Regions from separate parts of the Homo sapiens genome. Here region 1 is linked to region 2. The links are contacts of gene promoters, found by promoter capture Hi-C in human tissues and cell types (Jung and others, 2019). All regions are on one chromosome and are shown on one strand. Each heading gives the region's core, a stretch centred on a gene start or on the middle of the fragment in contact. The rest is flanking DNA. Distances are from core to core; before and after follow the strand shown.

Region 1 (4,846 bases), core at 1,863-4,362, 1.0 Mb after region 2:
TCACATACTAGAGCCTGTCATAGGGTTAGGGGGTAGGGGAGGGATAGCATTAGGAGAAATACCTAATGTAGAACGGATTAATGGGTGCAGCAAACCACCATGGCATGTGTAAACCTATGTAACAAACCTGCACGTTCTGCACATGTACCCCAGAACTTAAAGTATAATTTAAGAAAAAGAAAATTCTATTGAGAAATAAAAATGAAATTTCCGAAGACATTTTTTTGCTTACCCACCTAAAGTTCAACACACATAAATATTATTAATTATCTTTCTTCTAGTAATAAATTAATGACATAAGCGAGTAACCTGTCAACTGAGCAAGAAATCTGGGAGGTATTCTCCCAGATTCCCCTTATTCCTTCCATTTCTAATGGTTCTACAGATTTCTTTTACATTTTACTTCCTTAACATCATTAGTATCTGCTTCAGCCTCTTCGTTCCCATTGTTCTGATGCAGGGTCTTATCATCATCTGCCTGGATTATTGCAATTTACTTCTAAATGGCTTGCCTAACTCTAGCTGCACCTTGCCATCTAGCTGTCATATGACCAGCAATCTTCCTGAAAAACAGAAATAAGATTATATTATTATCGTGATTAAAGCATTCAACCAAACTCTTTGCATAGCATATAAGGTCCTCCAATATTTGGCACTGTTTTCTCTCCCCAATTTCATCCTCCATTGCCTCCGCCCACCCCCCTTATGCTTTAATATTAAACTATTTACAGTACCCTCCGCAATGTTCTGTTATGTTTCCATGTATTTGCATATATTGTTGCCTGTACTTGGAATCCTCTTTTCCCAAACCCTTCTAATAAACTTTAACCTACTTTTCAAGACCCACCTAGGTGTTTCTTCTTCTCTGAACCCCACCCTAGCATGTCCTAGTCAACATACATCTTTGTCCCATCACGGTACCTTGAGGATATGTATTATATTCCTATCACAAGGAATTGTAATGACTTGTTTACATATCTGACTCTTCCCAGACTGTGTGTTTCAGGAACTATGGCTTTTCATCTTCATATGTGGGCACCTTACAGTTACTCACTAATGTTGCATGCATGAATGAGTGAATTAATAAATCAATGTTCTAACAATGCTAAAACAGAGAAGTATTTAGAGATTTGTCCAAATATACTCCATGAATCAGGGGCGGGTCCAGGAATAGATTCTGGTTCTTCCCACTTCTTTCTATTCCTCAGACTCCTAGACCATGACTCACTGTTTCATTAACAAAAGAAGATGGAAAAATTTTTATTTTTCTTACACAAAATTACCCACCATAGGAAACTACCCACTGTACTCCACTGTCTGGCTTTCAGTCATAAAAATGGATCTTGATGCTCTAGTTGCATTTTTGGGGGAAGATTCTTCCATCTTAGGCACAATGTGTTCAGAATAGACTCCAGAAGCATTGGTATTTGAATAAGGGAATTAAAATAAAAATGTCATAAGGAACTCATAATTGATGTTATCAACTACCGCCTCTCTTTATTCTAACTCTTCTTCTAAAGGAGCAGATTATATGCTTCCTAATTCTTTTTTGGATATTTTAACTAAGCTGTCCCTTAAGCTTTAAGGCCAGGAAAACACACACACACACACACACACACACACACACATGCACATGCAATTAAAAGTGTTAGGTTGAGGCCGGCGCGGTGGCTCATGCCTGTAACCACAGCACTTTGGGAGGCCAATGTGGGCGGATCACAAGGTCAGGAGTCCGAGACAAGCCTGACCAGCATGATGAAACCCCGTCTCTACTAAAAATACAAAAATTAGCAGGGCGTGGTGGTGTGCGCCTGTAATCCCAGCTACTTAGGAGGCTGAGGCAGGAGAATCGTTTGAACCTGGGAGACGGAAGTTGCAGTGAGCCGAAATCGGGCCTCTGCACTCCAGCCTGGGCGACAGAGCATGACTCAAAAAAAAAAAAAAAAGTGGTAGGTTGACATCTCCTTGAGTCAAAAGTGGTAGGTTGACATCTCCTTGAGTCATTAAGTATATTTTTAAAATTTGCATAACAAAACTCTATTTCTGAAGTAACTTTGACATTGAGAAACCTTTTATTCAAAAAAGTTTTCTGGACTCTCCACAGAAGCACTCAAGAAAAACTTATATTATTAGTCCTATTCTGTAGATGACATATTCTAAGATAACAAAATATATACATTTTCTCCTCTCAAGAGTGTAAATAAGAATGACATCATAAACTCATAAAAATATTTAAATATTCCTTCAAATAAAAAATTTAAAGGTTACCAATACATCTTATGTCTTATTTATAAACCTACATCTTTTTGTGTCTAGTCTCAGTGTATTCAAAACACCTCATATTTCATTTTGCTAACCTTGAAAAATAATACCCTTCTAGTAGTCTTTCTTCTAGAAATAGTATAGAAAATTAGATAACATACTGCTTTTCTCAACACAATATTCTAAATATCTTCTTATGGTTTAATTCTCTCTAGTACTTCACTTTCATGGCAGCTCTCCTCTCTATCCATGAAGTCCCCTCATCAGCACGTTTCCCTCATCCCCTGTGTATTAGTCTGTTTTTTATGCTGCTGATAAAGACATACTGGAGACTGGGTAATTTATAAAGAAAAAGAGGTTTAGTGGACTCACAATTCCATGTGGCTGGGGAGACCTCACAATCATGGCAAAAGGTGAAAGGCACGTCTTCCATGGCAGCAGGCAAAAAGAGAATCAGAATCAAGCAAAACGGATTTCCCCTTATAAAAACCATCAGAACTCGTGAGACTTATTCACTACCATAAAAGTATGGGGAAAACTGCCCCCGTGATTCAATTATCACCCACTGGGTCCTTCCCACAATGCATGGGAATTATGGGAGCTACAATTCAAGATGAGATTTGGGTGGGGACACAGCCAAACCATGTCACTCTCCTGCTCTGCCTCTTGTCCTCTGCTCCTCACACTCAGTTTCTCACCCTTCCCCACCAACAGAGTCCACATAGATGTGCTTTCATTTCCCTGCTCTGATCACTTATTGTAAGAAGAACAGCTCTTCTGAAATTCAGGTGAATAAAATTCCCTAATCTCTTAAATATCATAATACAGAATATGATGGATTACCTAAAGAGGAAAACAGACCAATGAAATTCACTATGGAAAAATCACTTTGGATTGAACTTTGAGGAAAGGTTTTGTCAGGAAGAGAGAATCTGATCAGCCAGAGGAAGGAGGATAAGAAATAGCTAAGATGAGATAAGCAGAGAGAAAGCATTCTAGGTGAGATGTTTATGAGTAATATTGCACAAATCAGGAATGAATGTGGAGTTCGGCAGACATTTAATTCTGATGGATTTAAGGAAGATGGCCATGGTAGACAGTATTGAAAAATTAGCTGTACATTTAAAATGCCAAAAACAGTTACATTTCCATCTTTTAGGTCATGGCAGGTATTATTATTGCAGGTGTTTGTTGCTAAGTGACACAATGGGAATAATGTAGTAATGGAGAAATTAGAGAGGGGAGAAGTGAAGAGTGATATCCTAAAAGCTAAAGCAGTTGTCTCTGGCATGAAATCATGAAAGGCTGAGATGAGAGGTATGGATGAAATGGAAAAGAAGCAGCTTCTGTCTTCTTCTTTTCATTTCATCAAGAAATGAGTCAGCTGGCTCATTTAATAAGCACAGTATCACAATAGTTATTTAAATTATTCATTTCTATAGGGACCCAAATAATAAAAAGAAAACTAATCATTTTTTTTCTCTTTTTGGCATTCCTATTCCTACCTAGAAAAGAAACAAGAGACAAAGTAATTTGATGACTAAATGTATGTATTTTTTATTTTACATTTTTAGATTTGTTAGTATAGAAAAGTTGATGAAATGTTAACTAACCTAAAGTCACTTTTGGCTTACTTTTTTTTGCTTTTATTATTTTCAATTGACACATAATTATACATATTTACAAGGTTCAGTGTGCTATTTTGACACAGGTATACAATATGTAACGATCTCAAATCAGGGTAATTAGTATATTCATCACCTCAAGCATGTATTATTTCCTTGTGTTGGGAATGTTCAAAATCTATTCTTCTAGCTAGTTGAAAATACACAATTAATTTTTGTTAATTACAGTCACCCCATAGTGCTATTCAATGCTAGAACTTATTCTTCCTATCTAGGTGTACTTTTGTAAAGCCATATTTTTTCCAATTTTTATTTCAGATTCGGAGGGTACATGTGCAGGTTTGTTAGCTGGGTAACTGTGTGATGCTGAGTTTTGGGGTACAAATGATCCTGTGACCCAATAATGAGTTTTTCAACCCTATCCCCATTCCTCCTTCCCTTTTCTAGTAGTTCCTGCTTCTATTGTTCTCTTTATGTCCATGAGTACCCAATATTAGGCTCCATTTATAGGTGAGAACATGTAGTATGTGGTTTTCTGTTTCTGTGTTAATTCACTTAGGATAATGGCCTTCAGCTCTTTCCATGTTGCTTCAAAGGACATGATTTCATTCTTTTTTATGGCTGTGTAGTATTCCATGGTGTATGTATACCACTCTTTCTTTATCCAACCCACCATTGATGCACCTAGGTTGATTCCATGTCCTTGTTATTGTGAATAATGCTGTGATGAACATGTGAGTGTATGTGTTTCTTTGTTAGAACAATTTGTTTTCTTTTGGATATACATCCAGTAATAGGGTTACTGGGTCAAATGGTAGTTATCTTTTTAAGTTCTTTGAGAAATCTCCAAGCTGCTTTCCACAGTAGCAGAGTCACCCCCCACCCTTTTTTTTTTTTTTGCTATATAAAATCTGAGTAAGATAACAGACTATTGGAAGTGTGGAAGAAATTGGGCCCAT
Region 2 (4,741 bases), core at 2,138-4,637:
TAGAGCAGTGCCTGGTACATGGCAAGTACTAAAGAAATATGTGTTGAAAGAGGAGTGCCTCTTCCTTGATACGCTTTTTTGGTCAATGGTTTTCTTAACTTGGTGCATTGATTAAAATAGGGAACATTTATCTCCTTTCCTCTCTTGCTCGTGGATATAACTCAAGATGGTTGCTGTTTAAATTTGAACACCTTAAATAAATGGCTCTTTTTGCAACTGGAAGCACAATTTTTGCACAGCTAGAAAAATCTTTTTCCAACACAGAAATTCCCAGTGCAGTTTTCTAAGAAACCCCCTACGATACGCAGCACAGCAGGCTCACCACAAGGCACATCAATCATTTTACTGTGTATCAGGCACCTCTTACAGGATTTTCTGTGATCCTGGTGTCAGTGCACATTCTGTATCAAGGCAGAGATGATATGTAGAAATCTGGCAGCTATTTAGAAGGGAGGCTGGGCAGTGGTGTGCCAGTATAATTAATGAGAGTCATCGCTTAGGAAATGAAGAGGGTGGGGGTTGGGAAGGATGCCTTTCACCATTCAATGGCATTTAAGAAAAATTGATGCTTTCTTAGCACTTTTAATGCTGGGAGGACATTAAGTCAAAGAATCACAGCAAAAGATTTTTGTAACTACTGTACAGATGGATGTCCCTGTGCTTGAAGAGGCAGGGCTAATTCAACCCCAGACTTTTCAGCCAGGCGGATTTCAACCTTGTATTGAGCTACCAGCAGGAGTTCTTTATACTTGGAAAAGTGGTAAATCCTTACTAAAAGATCATAGCTTGCATGACCAAGAGATCCTCTAGAAAAGGTACTTTACTACCATGTAGGATGTTTGTCTTACCTGCCCAAAGAAGTTTTAATGAAGATCTCATTTTCTCCAGTTCCCCTTTAACCAGTGAAAGAGGAGGGTATTATTTGTTTTGTTTTTCTATTTATTCTTTGGTAACCATGGAAGAGTTTGTGTAACCTAGAGAGGCTGCTTATTACCCACTGTCTAATCCCTTTGTTATTATTCCATACTCTGATTGTCACAAGCAGGAAAAATAGTTCTGTCCTGCTTCTAAAAACTTAGCAATGTAACACATTTTCTTGTTTTTAGTGATTTTCTCCAATTAATTAATTAATTGTTTTAGTGATTTTTCTCAGATAAATAATGTTAAAACGACTTGGAGAGAAAAGCTACATTAAAAGATTATGGATGTATAAATGTCCTAAACATTTAAGAACATGCATAATTATGATTCATACCAACTTCAGAATTATTACCTTTGGGAAGGGGTGGGGGTAACGAGTCAGGAGTTGGGGTTTAGCTATATCTGTAATGCTTTATTTAAAAAAGAAGGGCTGGGGGGAGCAGGAGTATTACATGGTATATATCCTGTTTTTGGTAGGTTTGAAATATCACACAATTTAAAAATTTAAAAGTTTACAAAATTATGGGAGTTGATTAAAACTATCAAAATAAAGAATGCATAGCAAACAAGTGCTCTTATTATGAACTTTGTGTCTGAGTTTATTTCAACATGTGCATCTGCATTTTTTCAGACTCAAGAAAGACAAACACCGGAGGTTAGGGGGTGAACTGCTGCTGTTGAGGGATTATCTTGGTGGTTTTTTTTTTTTTTTTTTTTTTTTTGGCTTTTCTATTCACCATGGAGGTTACCAGCAAAACAAATCTCCAACAAGCTTGTTTACAAAATATAAAGCAGTTTGGAGGCAGAGGGTTAATGACTTAATTTCTTATAAATTGAGGCTTGTGTATGGGCATGCAAAAAAACAAAAACAAAAACAAGTAAATTTGGGGAGGTTTCTTTCTATAGAGGCAAAGGACCTTACCTACATTTTTTCCAAATTGATTTCTTCCTGGTACTATTGGCAGGAAGAAATTCAAGTGGGTATTCTGGTGGCTTTTTTCTTTTTTCTGAGAGTCTAGGATTGTTTTCAGGACAAAGTTTCTTCTTGCCCATGGTGCTTTGCTGTGACATTGTAATTGCCTCTGTTGAATTGAATAATACAAATGGGTTGTTTCTATGGTATCGGCTAAGTGGGATGAAAAGGTGAAACCCTAGATCTTGCGCTGAGAGGTCACAGTGCTACCACCCTCCACACTGTCTGTCAAAGAGAACAGGCAGCCAAGGCCCTGAGCTCCAATCTCAGGCACTCATTTGTAACTTACTCGTTTGTAACTTCCTGGGCAAATTCACGCATGAAAAAAGAAAATGACTTTAGTTTATGTTGTCACTAAGCCCAGAAAATCCCTGCCAACCCCATGCTGCCAGCTTTCCTAGGACATTCTTATTGGAGGATTATTTTAAACTGAAAGGTGAGTGAAGAGCTGCGTCCCCACTCCTTCCCAGCCAGGCTTTGAACTAACAATAGGGCAGGTTGAATGAAGGCTGATAAATGTAAATCCTGGAATCCAGAAGCCGGATCACACCGCGGCCGTCTAGGCCAGCGGCGGTTCCAGCATCCGCCCCAAGCTGGTCACTCATCCTTTCAGTGCATTCAGTAGATTTCATCGTTTCATCAACACTTGAGTGCCTGCTTCGTGCAAGCTTTCCTCTGCCACCGCCGCCTTCTTACTCCCGGCAGGTTGCCCGCTTGAGTCAACCAGCCACTAAACGGATCTAAGTGAATAAGTGGCCTGTTAATGCCAAGGAGTAGCATTTCCAAATGAAGAGACTGGGGGTAAATAAAAGCAAAGTGTTACCATTTACACGCTCTCAATTTTAGTTGCACTTCACTCAGAGTAGATCTCTTTAATTTGCGGCATCGACAGATGCTATATTCTTAGAAATTTTTTTTTTTTAAAGGAGGTAAGACGGGCGTTTGAGAACACTTTTTACTTTGGTGCAAGTTGCACGCAGTTCCCATTCACTCAGAGTAGATCTCTTTAATTTGCGGCATCGACAGATGCTATATTCTTAGAAATTTTTTTTTTTTAAAGGAGGTAAGACGGACGTTTGAGAACACTTTTCACTTTGGTGCAAGTTGCACGCAGTTCCCATTCCCTGCGCCCTTCACTTCCAACTTTGTTTCTCCAACTCCTTTACCCCCCACCACCGAGGCCCTCTGGCTACAGCCCCGAGGGGTTACCCTGGGTTTCGAAACTTTTGAAACTTGCGGGGGAGTAAAAGTACTTCATTCCCAGTGCTTCTGGCCCTTGCCAAGCGGGGAGCCCCGCAGGAGAGTGTAAGCCAAGGGTTCCAGGTGCAGCCTTGGGGTTCCACGTGCAGCCCTAGGGTTCCGTACACCCATCCCGCCCGGGCCAGAGGAGGCAGCAGGCGCTCCAGTCCGCTCTCCGCAACTCCAGTTCCTGATTTCCTCGGAAGCTGCGGGGCCGAGAGGGAGGGGGGCTCCTGTGTGAGCGTGAGGATTTGAATGAGAAAGCAGGTTGTGGCGGCGGCGCCCTGCTCTTCCCCGCTCGTCTGGGGCTTCTGCTGGCTAGTGGGGAGAAGTGCTCTTCTAGGGGGGCTTTTCTGGCCCTTGGCAGGGGTTTGGAGTTGGAGTCACAGGGGCCAATAACTCATCACCCCAGCACTTCGGAGGTGGCTCCTTGTGCCACGGACTCCGAGGAGTCCTTCAGCTACTGAACACTCAAAGCTGAGGAGGTCAGTGCTTTCGGGGGAAGAAGGGGCCCAGGAGAGAAGGGGGTGTGCAGGAAAAAGAGAACTGGTACGCCAGTCCGATGAGCGAGTGAGCAGGTGGCCCAAGTTCCTTTCTCGGCAGCCACAGCCGGCACACGCCTGTTTAGGACTGTGAGTGCTGTGCGTGGGGATCCCCTAAGGCCCCGTGCGGGGAACTGGCCACGGCCGCTCTTCAGGGTCCCATAATTCAGAAGGATGAGGGTGGGTGTGTGTGTCCGCGAAATAATGTAACTCTCGGGTCCCTTGCGGTGGTGGTGGGTGGCGTTTCGCCCGGTGGAAGGTCCAGCCTCGCTGCAGGATGCTTCACCCTCACGCGGGGTCCCGGGACCCTCTCTCTGACCGCCAGACGCCGCCAGGAGAGCAGGTCCGCGTTTCCCAGCAAGGGGAGTGCAGCGTCCGTTACACTTGGGGAGTCTCACAGCTTTTCCTGCGCCCGGTGACCCTGCTCAGGACCTCTTAGAGACTAGGTGTGCTCAGCGCGAGGAGGATATACTCCATTGCCCTTTCCTGGGAAGAACCAAGAGCGCCCGAGCGGCGCGGGGTGGTGGAGGCAAACCCCGGCCCCGCGGCGGCACGCTCTGCGCCTGCGCGGCGTTTCCTTGGCGACTGAGCTGCGGGTCCGAGACGCCACCCCGCGAGCCCCTAAACCCAGTTCCCTGTTGAGCGTCTGCGACGCCCTCTCCCCTCCTTCCCGAGGCTTTTTCTATTTGTTTCCTTCTGCGAATCAATTTGTGATCACATTTTGACGTTGAGAGTTCAGCATTAAAGCAATAACCAACTAAATTAAAAAAAAAAACCCAACTTTTCCCTTCCCTTGTTACCGTTTTGATCACGGACAGAAGAAAATGGTGAGAGATTAGTTATTAGGGCAGCAATTGAAATCCCCCTCTGTCCCGAAAAGGGGAGACGAATAAAACATTTACTTCCTGGTAAGGAGTTAGAAAATTCAGTGAAGTGATTGTTCTCGAGCGTTACAAGAACAAATCTGTGCCTCCTAACCCAGGTGAAGAGCAGAGCTTGTACAACCCAGCAGCACCCATGTCCTGTTTATTGGCATGTTTATGACAAGGAGATGCTCTGCAAAAGG

The links. The method cuts DNA at HindIII sites, captures the fragments that hold promoters and counts their contacts. A contact is called where the count stands out against the background at its distance.
Region 1: a fragment that was not itself captured here is called in contact with the fragment with the promoter of PLCH1 in region 2 in 1 of the 25 tissues and cell types used here (mesenchymal stem cells).

The regions. Positions count from the first base shown.
Region 1 is chr3:154,731,001-154,735,846 of GRCh38, reverse strand. No RefSeq gene overlaps it. Among named protein-coding and RNA genes, the nearest start is that of GPR149, 300 kb to the right of the region's middle. The HindIII fragment of the contact is 5,824 bases long and covers 201-4,846 here.
Region 2 is chr3:155,743,717-155,748,457 of GRCh38, reverse strand. PLCH1 (phospholipase C eta 1) reads left to right here and starts at 3,387. Exons shown (of 23, transcript NM_014996.4): 1 at 3,387-3,618. RefSeq lists enhancers at 3,425-3,634, 3,529-4,150. The HindIII fragment of the contact is 7,162 bases long and covers 2,129-4,741 here.